2 separate regions of the Homo sapiens genome follow, and region 1 is linked to region 2. Evidence: promoter capture Hi-C in 16 types of primary human blood cells and fetal thymus (Javierre and others, 2016). All regions are on one chromosome and are shown on one strand. The core of a region is centred on a gene start or on the middle of the fragment in contact, and the rest is flanking DNA. Distances in the headings are between cores, read along the strand shown.

Region 1 (6,638 bases), core at 199-2,698, 290 kb before region 2:
TAATAAAGAAAAAAAAACTTTATTGCAAGAATATATAACAATAGACTTTTATTACCAGCTTAAAACAAATATAAAAAAGTTTCTTGATTTTTTTTAAACATTTTAAGGCCTTAACGTTTTTTTCTGAGTTCTTATTATGTGCAAGGTACCAAGGTAAGTTATGATCTTAAGCTCTCACAGCTTATATAGTAAGTTATAACCATAATATATGGCTTTATGTAGTAACTTCTATAACAAAAAATACACATTAAAAACAGTTCTAGTTGGGAGGACAAAGTGAAGCTTAACAGGAAGTGGGTGAGCTGGGTCTCACAAGTTGGGCAGGACTTTTGAGAGGGCATTCAAGGCTGAGGGGAACCTGTAAACCAAAACACGGAGGGAGTAAAGTGCAGGCATGTTTAGCAACTACGAATAGTCTAGACATAAGTAGTCTGGTGTGCTAGAAACTAGACTATAGGGTATGTGTGCATGTACACACATAACTGCCACACACTTGTGCTTGGGGAGGGTAGGGGATAATAGCAAATAAAAGGCTCAAAAGTTAGGCTGAGACTAAATTAGGGAAGGGGATGAAAAAGGTAGTATAATGAATCAGAGCCATTCATATATGCTCACAATGTAGTATATTTTGTAATCTCATTTAATCCTCGTAACCCTATAAGGTGAATATTTTTATCCTTAAGTTTTGCAGATGAGGAAACTAAGGCTCTGAGGTATTAAATAATTTGCCCAAAGTATCACAGCTTGGTGCAGTTGGCATTAGAATCCAAGTCTATGTGAGTTTATTCTGTAAGTACTAGAAATTTAATAAAGAAAACCAGATGAGTATACTAAGTTTTTCCTGAATCAAAGGTGAAATGAACAAGCTATATTAGGCCACAAGGATCTATATAAGTTGTCCTGTTTGCTTGACTAATAAAGTTTGACTAATAAACTTCCTGGGTTTCCCATTGCTATTATTTTTGCAGGGCAACAGAGTAAAATTTTAAAACAAATCATGGTAAGTATTCTCAAGAAGACGCTCTTTACTTGCTCTGGACTAAGCATTCAATACATAGCATTGAGGCTTTATATCACAGTACAAAAAGCTAAAAAATCCTCAATATCAAAATTCCCACTTTCTGTTGTTCTGCTCTTGTAAGCAGTTGATTGAACTGTTCAGAGTATCTGTAAAAATGCCAAATTATACATGTTTCATGAAGGCAGGCTGGTATTCTATTCTACTCTCCTTCATCACTGGAAGCATGAGGTATGTTTTGCCAAGTCTGTAAGACAATGTGCACCACAGGTTCTCCAATAGGGGGTGATATCCCCCTGGCAAGCTGCATGTAGTTGTTAAATAATCAAAGGATGTTATAGTTACAAGGTGCTTCATTTTGCAGTGAGTCCCTCATTTTTCAAATGAGGAAACTAAAGATTCCATAAAGTTACTCAGCCCTTTGGGTGTCCAACCAAAATTAACAGTACCATGGTCTCTTAACTCCCTACCCAGGGTGATCACAGCATTTAAACTGCCAAACTCTGCTGTAAAATTCGAGAACAGAATCCCTGACTTCCAAAAGCATTTATGCTCTCTGTACCCAAATCTGACCTATCTTTCAAGCCTCCTTGAAAGCCTCCTTCAACCACTCTTGTCCACACTGTCTTCCCTGAAGCCCTACAACACATACTGTGTCACACAGTTAACACTCAATCATATATTGTCATATTCACAAATTGTTTTATTTTTATCCTGTCCCTCCACACTAGTTTGGCTCCTGAACTCAAGGAAATTAAAATGATTTATAGTTTATATAGTCGTAAAGACCTGAGACTTGGTAAACACTTGTAATTGACCTGTTCTGCCCACTCTATGCCTTCTTCAAAGAAGCCAACTTTCTCAAAGTAGCTAAGTGCTGCTGGTCCCCTGAAGCAAGTGTTTCTTGTATACTAAAAGCACTCTGCATTGATTTTTTTTCTTTCTTTTTTTTATTTTTTTGAGATAGAGTTTTGCTTTGTCACCCATGCTGGAGTGCAGTGGCACGATCTTGGCTCACTGCAACCTCTGCCTCCCAGGTTCAAATGATTCTCCTGCCTCAGCTTCCCGAGTAGCTGGGATTACAGGCGCCTGCCACCACACCCAGCTAATTTTTGTATTTTTAGTAGAGACAGGGTTTCACCATGTTGGCCAAGTTGGTCTTGAACTCCTGACCTCAGGTGATCCACCTGCCTCAGCCTTCCAAAGTGCTGGGATTACAGGTGTGAGCCACCGCGCCCAGCCTGCATCTATTTTCATGAGGCCCGCCGCCTAGGAGAAAGCCTTCTCTACCACCATATCTATTAACATCATTCTTACTGGTCATGGTAGGTACTGTTTGGAAAAGCTACAAGTTACAAAGCCTTTTTCTGTATAACACCTCCAAAATACCAGTAAAATTAAACTCTTCTAAAACCATATCCAAATCTTCCATTATAATGAAGATTTGAATCTAAAGAGTTCACAGAGTTATATGTAACTGTACCAAGAAAAGGTATTAATTCTCTGAAAAAACTGCTTCTTAAAACAGAGGTGTTAATCTAACCTCTAGGGAATCTCTAAATTCTTTTCCTTGGTGGAGCATCAAGATCCAAGAGAGAAGCTTCTTGTGACAAGACAAATTCAGTCAAAGTAGTTTGCTGCCTCCATGCCTCCCACCACAGCCCCCACCAACTCCAGGAGCACAGCAATAAATGTGAAGACCATCTAGTCTAACACAAGCAAGATAAACATAACAGAGCTGGCACAGTGGCTCATGCCTGTAATCCCAGCACTTTGGGAGGCCGAGGTGGCCAGATCACTTGAGGTCAGGAGTTGGAGACCAGCCTGGCCTACATGGTGAAACCCTGTCTCTACTAAAAATACAAAAATTAGCTGGGTGTGGTGGTGCACACTTGTAATCCCAGCTACTCGGGAGGCTGAGGCAGAATAATTGTTTGAACCCGGGAGGCAGAGGTTGCAGTGAGCTAAGATCACGCCACTGCACTACAGCCTGAATAACTGAGTGATACTCTGTCTCAAAAAAAAAAAAAAAAAGGACTTTGGATCTAGTACATGGAATCAGAGTTCCTCCTTCCTGAGAGCACTCAGAGAAACAGAACTTTTGGAAAGTCTTCAGCTGTTGCTCCAACCAGGGCAGCTGTGTTTTTGGAATATAGATTGATAGCAAATGACAGACAAATAGAATCGCCTAGGCAAAGCGGTATTTTACTCGTGGGACACACAGCCCAGGAGTTAGAAGATGTGTCAGATAGCTCCTTCTTTGTCGGACAGTAATTGCCTGCATTCTCCCAACTGCACAGACAGTAAGTCCCTACAAACAACTGCTCTAGTTCACAGATGACAAACTAAAAAGAAGTGGCTCGGTTCACATCCTGAATCTACAAAGATACACCCTCTGAAGGGCAGAAGTGAGACAGTGGTCAGAGGTTCATAAAATAAAATGCAAGAAATCAAAATCAAAAGTGCTTTATTTCCGAGGACAAAGGCATTCTTTCTCTTTAAAGAATTCAAACAACAAGACTTAATGCTTCTTCACAGTATGACAAGCATTCTGTCTTCCAAATAATATCATCTTACATTTGTATTGTGTTACATAGCAATTTCACATGGATTAATTAATAACAATTTAGGTAGGTAGTGTGGTACAATTACTATTCAATCTTACAGGACCACATGGGATTTCAGAATTATGAGTCCACAGATATGAGGGAGAGATGTGTTGGACATGAAAATTAAAGAAGTATGCCACATTCCCGAATCTTAATGCTGATGCCAAAGATTCCAAATCCTCTGGAGATAAAGCCTCTCCATTATCTCAAGGGCCTGAAATTAAATCGTTCAAGTGATTCTCTTGCTTCAGCCTCCCGAGTAGTTGGGACTACAGGTACCCGCCACCATGCCCGGCTAATTTTTGTATTTTTAGTAGAGATGGGGTTTTCGCCAGGTTGGCCAGGCTGGTCTCCAACTCCTGACCTTGGGTGATCCACCCACCTTGGCCTCCCAAAGTGCTGGGATTACAGGTGTGAGCCACCGTGCCCTGCCAGCTAACAGCCATTTCTAAGCAAGGTTCAAGGCAGCCTTGCTGCAGACTGAAGAAAGGGCTGGTCTTCGGACTGTGTCATAGCCATTCCTCCTCTACATCAATCTGGTCTGCTGCTGGGGAGCAGGGGTGAAGGGCAGGAGGGTGGGGATAGATGTTAAAGAAAGTAGTGGGGAGGAGTTTCTTGGTTAAGAAGCAGAACCTTGGAGCTGTGTTGTAACTACATGCGTAAAGGCAGGCTTAGGACATGTCAGACGTCTGAAGCAGGAAGCAGGCAAAGGAAGCACCGTGGTTTTCTTTGGGCTAGGGATTCCCCTCTTGGGTTAAGCAAAAGGTCAGGAAAGATAAAGCCCCTTTCCTAATGTCTATAAAGTCCAAGGATGATGGAAATTCCAGGAGGTATAGGGGTTCTAAAATGCTATACGACAGCTGTGTCCAAAGCATTCTTTATATAAACCCACAATAATGTCATCTGTTTTTGAGGGGAACTAGCTATGTCTACTGTCTAATAGGGCATTGATGTGTTGTTATTTAATAAATACCCTTGGGCTGGGCGCGGTGCCTCACGCATGTAATCCGCCAGCACTTTGGGAGGCCAAGACAGGCAGATCACGAGGTCAGGAGATCGAGACCATCCTGGCTAACATGGTGAAACCCCGTCTCTACTAAAAATACAAAAAATTAGCTGGGCGTGGTGATGGGTGCCTGTAGTCCCAGCTACTCGGGAGGCTGAGGCAGGAGAATGGCGTGAACCCGGGAGGCGGAGCTTGCAGTGAGCAGAGATCCCGCCACTGCACTCCAGCCTGGGCAACCAAGCGAGACTCCATCTCAATAAATAAATAAATAAATACCCTTAATGACAGGCATCATGTTGGAGAAAAAGATTACAATAGGTAAAATTCCACAGAGTACAAATTCAACTGAGAATGGTCCACAGTTCGGGAACAGAAGCAGTAACCACAAACTGGAAATCATTTTACCTATTCTTCTACCTTATAATAATGAGAACATTCTCCCTAGTGTTTTATATCTTATAAAAGCACTTTAACATAATCTTATTTAAATATAATTAAGATTCTTCTGAATCATGAAGGTTTAAAAAAATTTTTCAATTTACTCAAGTTCATCAAATAAAGAGGTCTTCTTGTTTTATTTATTTAAATTAAACTAGCCTGGAAACAGAAACAAACAATTGAAAATTCTCTACCGGAAACTGTCTCCCATTCACAACTGTATCACTTGCTCCTATTTACTGCCTCTAAATAACGCTACCTAGTTTCATTCAATTGAGGATTTGAACAAGGAAAGAGCTGCAACTGTTGTACTACTTCCTGTTGCAGAATTAACCAGTCATTTCCAATCTTCTTCCATTTTAGGATATTTCCCTTCCAAAGTGCTGTCCAAAGAGAGAGCAACTTCTGTTCCACTATTCCTAGACAATTTTCCTAAATCACTTAAACCAATTTTCCTTCATTTACTTAGTTTGCATTCTTCAAAAGCCCATTCTATTTCCTGTACCCCACTCCTCCTTCATGCCCTTACGTACTGTTTTGTTGGGTAAAAATACTCTTATCTTTCTGTAAAGATCAATTATCTAGTCTTAAATAGTTCTTGTGGTTTTTCAAAGGTGCCCTTCATTTGAAGAACCCTTTTGTGCTGCCCCCAAGTCTCGCAGAGATGAAAAAGGCTGTTGTCCTTCTCCTCATTCTGTGTACACCTCCATCTCCCTGTCACCCAAATAAGTGTCAGTTTTTATTAGTCTATAATAAATAACTTCTTATCAGCATCAAATTTCTATTATCACCATTCCTAGTCTCTTGCAGCTTTTTCCTCCATCCTGCCCTCTTCCTTGAAAGTTTGAAATTATTTTAACTAAAAACTATCTTTGACTATTGTTATTTCCCAAACACAAAACAGTTGTTCAAGACTAAACAGCACTGAATCCATGCCCCAGATAGATAGATAGATAGATAGATAGATAGATAGATATACAACTGTTGGTCTTGGGGAAAAAGTCTTAGGAATTAAAAACAAATCACTTTTCTTAACCTTGGGCATTAACAAATAACTGAATTCCAGCTTTAAAAAATTTAAAATATCTCTCTCTACACACACACAGTTCAAGAGAACTAATGCCATATGCTTCAGTGTTTTATCAAACCAACATTCTGTGGGACAGTTTGTTCAGTCTTTGGCTGACAGCACAGCCAGAATTATTCTTCAAGGCTGTTTTTTTTTTTTTTTTTTTTTGAGATGGAGCCTTGCCCTGTCGCCCAGGCTGGAGTGCAGTGGCACGATCTCGGCTCACTGCAGCCTCTGCCCCCCAGGTTCCAGCAATTCTCCTGCCTCAGCCTCCCGAGTAGACTAGCTGGGATTACAGGCGCACGCCACCACTCCTGGCTAATTTTTGTATTTTTAGTAGAAACTTGGTGTCACCATGTTGACCAGGCTGGTATCGAACTCCTGACCTCAGGCGATCCACCCGCCTTGGCCTCCCAAAGTGCTGGGATTACAGGAGTGAGCCACCGCGCCCGGCTAAGGCTGTTAATACCACTTTTTGTATCAGTAAGATCATGGCTG
Region 2 (6,479 bases), core at 3,656-6,155:
CTGCCCCAGCATTTTTTTTAATAGAGATGGGATCTCACTGTATTGCCCGGGTTGCTCTTGAACTCCTGAGCTCAAACAATCCTCCTGCCTCAGCCTCCCAAAGTGCTAGGGTTACAGGTATAAGCCACCATACCTGGTCTTTTTTTTTTTTTTTTTTTTTTTTGAGACAGGGTGGTCTCACTCTGTCACCTAGGTTGGAGTGCTGTGGAGTGGTCACAGCTCACTGTAACTTCAGACCTTCAGACTCCTGGGCTCAAGCCATCCTCCTGCCTCACCTTCCCAAATAGCTGGACTATGGGCACATGTCACCATGCCCCATTTTTTTGTTTTTTGTTTTTAATAAGTTTTGTTTTGTTTTGTTTTTGTTTTTGTAGAGACAGGGTGTTGCTATGTTTCCTAGGCTGGCTTCCTACCTTGGCCAGCTAAAGTGCTAGATACAAGTGTGAGCCACCACACTCAGCCTGCTCCAGCATTTTAACCAGAGAAGTTACCATTTCTTCATCCTCCAAAAACTTTATTGTGTTAGGAGATTAAAGAGAAGACACTAGGCTTTTCCAAGAGATGGCTGCATTTGTATGGATGCTGATTTATTCTTAAACCTTTAGACATATTTTATAACATTCTCATTGGTGGTCATTGGAAGAGAAGCCTTCCCATTCCTAGCTCACAAGTTTTCTTCTCAAATATTTTAGCCTTGAATATTTATATAGACACACACATCTATATATATGTATATTCATATATATATATAAATGCTTCAAAATGTTAAATTAGACATCCCCCCGCCCCCCTTCCCAAGTCACTACCACTCCAGGGAAGAGCTTGGGAGGCTTGTTTCTCCTGGTGGGTGTTTGATTGATGGAGGGAAGAGCAACAGGAAGAAATCACCATAAACAGGTTTATGTAATTTGCAGACTACAATAACAGCTAGTTTCAACTTCATGTTTGATTTCATGATACCATCCTGCTTTTCATTGTAAGAATTCTGCATGTCATAAGTTTTTGTCTCAAGCAGAGCAAAACATTTGTTTTTGAAAACTGTGTGATAACTCCACGGATCACCAGGGACATCTGAAAGACTGATATTGAGATTGGCTTTATCTTTACCAGGACTTGCAAAATCAAATGCCCCCAAGGGCTAGGCAGGCTGGGTGGAGACTGTCAAACTGGGTGTTTAAGTCCCATTTCAAGGGGCAGCTTCTAATGGGCTCCAGCCTATTGTTGCCATAAGGAAGCGCGTGCCGTGGCAGATATTAATTGTTTGCTATTTTCTGGTTCCTTTCTCCTCCATGGTCCATGGGAGGACTGAGATTCCTTGCATCTTTGAAATTAAGGATGGCCATGTGACTTGCTTTGGCCAATGAAACGTAAGCTAAAGTGATGTATGTCACTTCAGGAGGAAAGATTTCACTGCTAGTGTTCGGCCCTCTCTACTTCTTTTTCTCTGCCATGGTGGCTGTAAATGCACTTGTTGATATGAAGGTATAAATACTGAGGCATCATCTATAAGACAGCTGCCCTGGAGAATCACCTCAATCCACAGTTGTCTTGTGTGAGTGGGAAGTAGCCTTTCTTTTGTTAAGCCAATGAGTTTGGGGGGATATTTGTTACTGCAGCAAAACCTAGCTTATCCTGACTATTACATATGCCCAATGTTGCCTGACTTTGATATTTTTAAAAGAGAAGTTTGAAATCTAGATTTTTTTATATGAAATCTTTGCTATATTAAAAAAATATTTTTTTCTACAATTATTTTTTTGAGATGGGGGTCTTGCTATGTTGCCTAGGCCAGACTTGAACTCCTGGGCTCAAATGATCCTTCTGCTTCAGTCTCCTGAGTAGCTGGGACTACAGGTGAGCACCACCATGCCTGTCTTTTTTAGAAAAACAAATTTAAGGTTGAAGCCAGAAAAGCCAGATTTTCAGCCTGCCAGCTACGCGTTTGCAATTTTGGTCTATACAATTTGAGTAGAGACTGGAGCAGCAATCCTGTCTGAACTCCTACAGTGCTTATAGCCTGTGTCGCATCATTAGCTCTTAGCTACTCTTTGTCTTGCTATTCATTAGTTTGTAAATCATTTTTCCTAATTAGATGGGACATAGAACAGGTGAGAAATCATGTCTTAAACTTTGTGTACCTTAAAGGTGCACAATAGGTTTTCAGTATATACTAGGATAAAGACTAATTGATTGGCTGATTACTCAGAACTATCACTTTCTCCTTTGATTTTGGAGGAGCAGGTCTGGGGAATTCATTATTTTACCTCACCATTTCAGTTTTCCCCTCTTTACAAAGAGCTCGGGATTCATCAATCTCCATTAAACTTCAAAATGAAATAGTCCACATAAGTCAGAGATGCAAAACCCACTGTATTAATTAGGACTTTTCTAATTGCAAGTAATAGGAAACCCAAATTCAAACTGCCTTGGGTAAGACATAATTTACTGATTCCTATAGCTAAAACCTGCAGAGGTCAGGATGATGTCAGGCATGACTGAATTCAGGAACTCAGGCAATGTCATTGGAACTTGATCTGTCTTTCCCTCCGTGGCTTGGCTCTACTTTTCCTCCCATTAGCTTCACTCTCAGTAGTTCCCTTTCACGTGGGGCTTCTGGCAGCTTCTCTTTCCAGCAGATCCACAAAATTCCCAGTCTTGTGAGATTTTCTTGGGATATGTGACGATCTCTCAATCAGCCCATTGACTAGGGCTGGGCGTGTTAATCAGGACTTTTCTAGTTGTGATAGGAAACTTAAATTCAAACTGCCTTAGGCTGAGTCACTTGTCTGTCCCTAAGAGCCAGTGGTAAATCAGCTCCATCCAGCATCCAATGTCTGCATAAAGGACCCAGTTTATGGCTTCTCCCTCTAGCCACTCCCAGAGGCAGTGACTACGTAGAGGGGCCTAGTAGGGAGTATGTGGCGGAAGGGAGGCCTTGAAGCTGTGTTCTTATAGCGTCCTATATGAAACTGAAAAGCATCAATAGCAAATAACAGAGAAGATCTAATGGAGATTATAGAGAGGTAGAGGGGACTAAAGGCCTCCCAAGTCACCCCTTGGTGCCACCCCTGTAACATATTTAATTTGTGGGGGAAGCAAAGGCCCAGTAGGACTGCTGGTGGCCCAGCCACAGTCCAAAACAGGCCCTAGAGAGGACGCGCTCTAACCACACACCCTAATTATTAGTCCCTGAATATAGATCAGTTTAGTTTATCCAAAGCCCCAGCTGAAGACACATCAAGTACTATTGCCTCTGTTCCATGTTTTGTTCCATATAAACATCCAGACACAGGTCTCATGGGAGAAACATCATGAGGCAGTTTCACAGTCCCTGGCTTTGATCTTTACGCTGTAGTAAAGGTGTCATTGGCCTTTCTGGGGCGAAGAGTCATGCTCTTCCACAAGAGTATCAAATTACTGCTCATTTTCCAATGTATATTCTTTCAGGGCCTTGCTTTCTTCTTACCTGCCCACACCAATGCTGTGAGGGAGACTGCTGATGGCGAAGGTGAAAATGGTCAGGCAATGTCATTGGGACTTGGTCTGTCTCTCCTTCCATTAGCCCACTTCTTTTATCCAGAAAGATTTCACTGCACTGGGGAAATAAGGAGAATAAAGTCTCATGCACTCACTCACATGAGAGAGACATGCATGTTCGGGTTTGCTCAATGGCACCCATCTGTCTCAAGTCTTGTTGTTTCTTTCACTCTGAGCATCTGCACTCCAAGAAGGCATGAACTTTTTCTTTCACTTCCTTTCTTCTATGGGTGATGACCTGACATCACTCTCAGAAGGAGGCCGAAAGTCGCTGAGTATAAAAATCGTCACTCCTATCTGGCTTAGGCAGAAGGTAGGGGGCTCGATGGGTACCCAGGAGCTCTGGAGGTAGGAGATGCCATCTAGGGAACCCCGTTCTACCTGAGGGCTCTGTGTCTCTGCCTTTGTATACTGGAGGGCACCATGGATGTCGCCTTCCCTCTGGAGTCCCCTTCACCATTTCCTCTCTAGAAGGATGGAAGGTGGGAGTGGGGTTGGCTATTGAAGCTGGAACGGGGAAGAAGGCCACTTGGGGTCTGCTGAGGGCTGGGTCTGCTCACTGCTGTGTCCGGAGTGGAAAGGAGAAGCCCGCTGGAGCAGGGTACAAGCCCAAGGGTCAAACTGCGCCAGCAGTAGAGCAAGCCGCGGTCTCAGGCTGCAGCCCTAGCAGAGGTCAGGCTGGTGCAGCCAGCCGTCTCGGGGCCTAAGGGCGCTGGCGGGGGCCGGTGGGTAGGGGTAGGAGTCCCCAAATGCCTTCATCTCAGCCCATCCTTCTCCACCGAAAAATAAAGCAGGCTGGCGAGATCGCCTCCTCACCCGCTCAGTCCTGAAGTGTCCAAGGATGAAACTGTGCGGAAATTCTCCCTGTCGCTCTCAGTTTGTGGGGGAAGCGCCGGGACTGAGGTACATGGTTAACACAGGCTGTGCGTGAAGGGGCTTTTGACTTTTCCCCCGGCTCCGGCCTCTCGCGTCTCTCTCCTAGGGCTGCGGCTGCTGCTGCCTGGCGGGCACAAGCCGGGCGGCGGTGCGCGGGGGGTGCGCTTACATAACCGCTCGCCGCGTCCTGCTTTCTCGAGCGCTCCTGCACCGTGGGGTGGCGGAGCCGGGGGACTGCATGGAACCCGGGACGCCCCCGCGGGGAGAGGAGCGCGAGCGGCCGCGGGAGGAGGGCGCCCAAGGCGGCGGGGGAGGTTAAGGTCAGTGGGTGTGAAGCGCCGGCTCCACACCCCCTCCTCCCCGGTCCCCTCCTTCCCTTCCTCTCCGTCCCCCTCTGACGTCTGGAGCTGGCAGCTCGGCCGGTTCCGCATTCCCGACCCCTCCCCGCCGCCCAGGGGCCGCTATATAGCCGGGGCTGATGCAACCCGTCCCGCCGCCCGCCACAGCCTGCGGGAGGGACGCTCGGCGGCCGCGACGGGGGGCGCTGGCGGCGGCGGACGCTGCAGCGGCGGCGGGGCTGGCGCCGCGGCGGCTCCCGGGCCGGGACAGGCCTGGGCACCGGGCGGAGCTCCGCGGCCGGGCGGCAGCGGCGCGGAGCGGGCACGGCGCCTGCAGCCGGGCCCCGGCCCCGGGGGCGCCGCCTCCCCCCGCACCTTCTGCACGGTGGGTGCGAGGGCGCGCGCTGGGGGCGCCGGGACGGGCGGGGCGGGGCAGGGCGCGGCGCGGGCACCTGGGACGGCCGCCCCCGCACGGGCGGAGCGCGAGGAGCCCCAGCCCAGCCCCGCGGGGAGGCTCCCGCAGCCCAGGGACCTCGAGCTTTCCCCGCGCCGGGCGCTGCAGCCGGGCCCCTCCCGCGAGGCGCCCGGCAGCCTGAGGCTTCCTTTTGGTTCCCGCCCCGGGACGGGAGGCTCCGTCCGCTCCCTGGACAGCCGGGGTGCTCCCTCCTTCTCCCTCCCGCGCTCTCCTCCCCCGTCCGTTTGCAGGGAGGTGCTCTCCTCGGGCGGCGGGGAAGGCGGGGTGAGTGGGGAGAAAAGTGCCCGCGGAGATGGGCTGTGCGGGTGGAGGTGGAGGGTGAAGGGCCAGGGAGGTGCGGGGTTGGGGTCGGGGTTAGATTGTGGAGGGATGACAAGGACCTCCTGGCAGTGAGGAAGCGCGACTCCCGGAGGACCCGGACCCGGAGGAGAGTATTGAGAAGGGCTCGGGATTTCCATCCAATGAAGGCAGCTTCTCTCATGGCCATTGCTTCGGAGCTCTGGGCTGGGAGGGGATCTAGGGGTGGCCGGGGTCCCCTTTGGGCTCTCCTGTCTCCCACGCCAGGTTATATAAGGAGGCAAGCAGGCTCCTGTAGGTAACCAGCCTCTCCCTTGCCCAGCCCAGCTTAGAAGGCTCTCCTCTGCTCCTCCCTTCAAAGGAGGTTGTCGAGGGGTAGGGGTGCAGTGGGGGGTGGGAGAGTGTAGGGGTGGATTGGGCCTTCCACCTGGATCCCTGGACCCTGGGATGGCAGAGCCAGGCTTTGCCTGGGTCAGTAGGAGGAGCAGGGAAGATGAGGAGGCTGGGGAAGATGGGGAGGTCCTGGCTCTTTTGCAGGGATGGAGAGGCTGGTGGAAGGAGAAATCAGCCGACCCCCTTGGGTCATCTCCAGTTGCAAGATGGCGTGGCCCTTGCCCAGGGTGCTGCCCTCCCTGTTGGAATCCAGGGCATGGGGCTATGGCCCGACCACGTGTGCTCAGGGCAAATGTGCTCAGGTCTATATCTCAGAAAGGGCTTGCAGCCTGCTTAGGCGTGTGTACCCAGGCTTAAATCTTGGTGGTCTCTCCCTAGGGTCTTAATTGGAGGAGCATCAGGAATTGGGAAGCTTTGAACCATGTTTGGGTACATTTGTACCCAAACGTCCTTTAAGCCCTTGGTAGAAACTGCATTCGCGTATCATCTCCCTTCCCCCCAACCTTCCTTCCCTGAGGGTTTTAAAAAACACTTCCCATTGCTTTTACCTTTCCAGCAAATCT

The links. The method cuts DNA at HindIII sites, captures the fragments that hold promoters and counts their contacts. A CHiCAGO score of 5 or more calls a contact.
Region 1: a fragment that was not itself captured here is called in contact with the fragment with the promoter of JDP2 in region 2 in 11 of 17 cell types (monocytes, neutrophils, M1 macrophages and 8 more); the score reaches 25.0 in monocytes.

Annotation. Positions count from the first base shown.
Region 1 is chr14:75,140,899-75,147,536 of GRCh38, forward strand. The region is part of intron 3 of TMED10 (transmembrane p24 trafficking protein 10); the gene reads right to left. Among named protein-coding and RNA genes, the nearest start is that of NEK9, 17 kb to the left of the region's middle. RefSeq lists a silencer at 6,568-6,638. The HindIII fragment of the contact is 2,336 bases long and covers 281-2,616 here.
Region 2 is chr14:75,423,117-75,429,595 of GRCh38, forward strand. It overlaps JDP2 (Jun dimerization protein 2), which reads left to right and starts at 4,906. Exons shown (of 4, transcript NM_001135048.2): 1 at 4,906-5,136. It overlaps JDP2-AS1 (JDP2 antisense RNA 1), which reads right to left and starts at 4,539. Exons shown (of 2, transcript NR_184172.1): 1 at 4,354-4,539; 2 at 551-3,595. RefSeq lists enhancers at 3,675-3,774, 4,025-4,354, 4,375-4,434, 4,402-4,959 and silencers at 4,625-4,894, 5,145-5,324, 5,385-5,554. The HindIII fragment of the contact is 6,934 bases long and covers 1-6,326 here.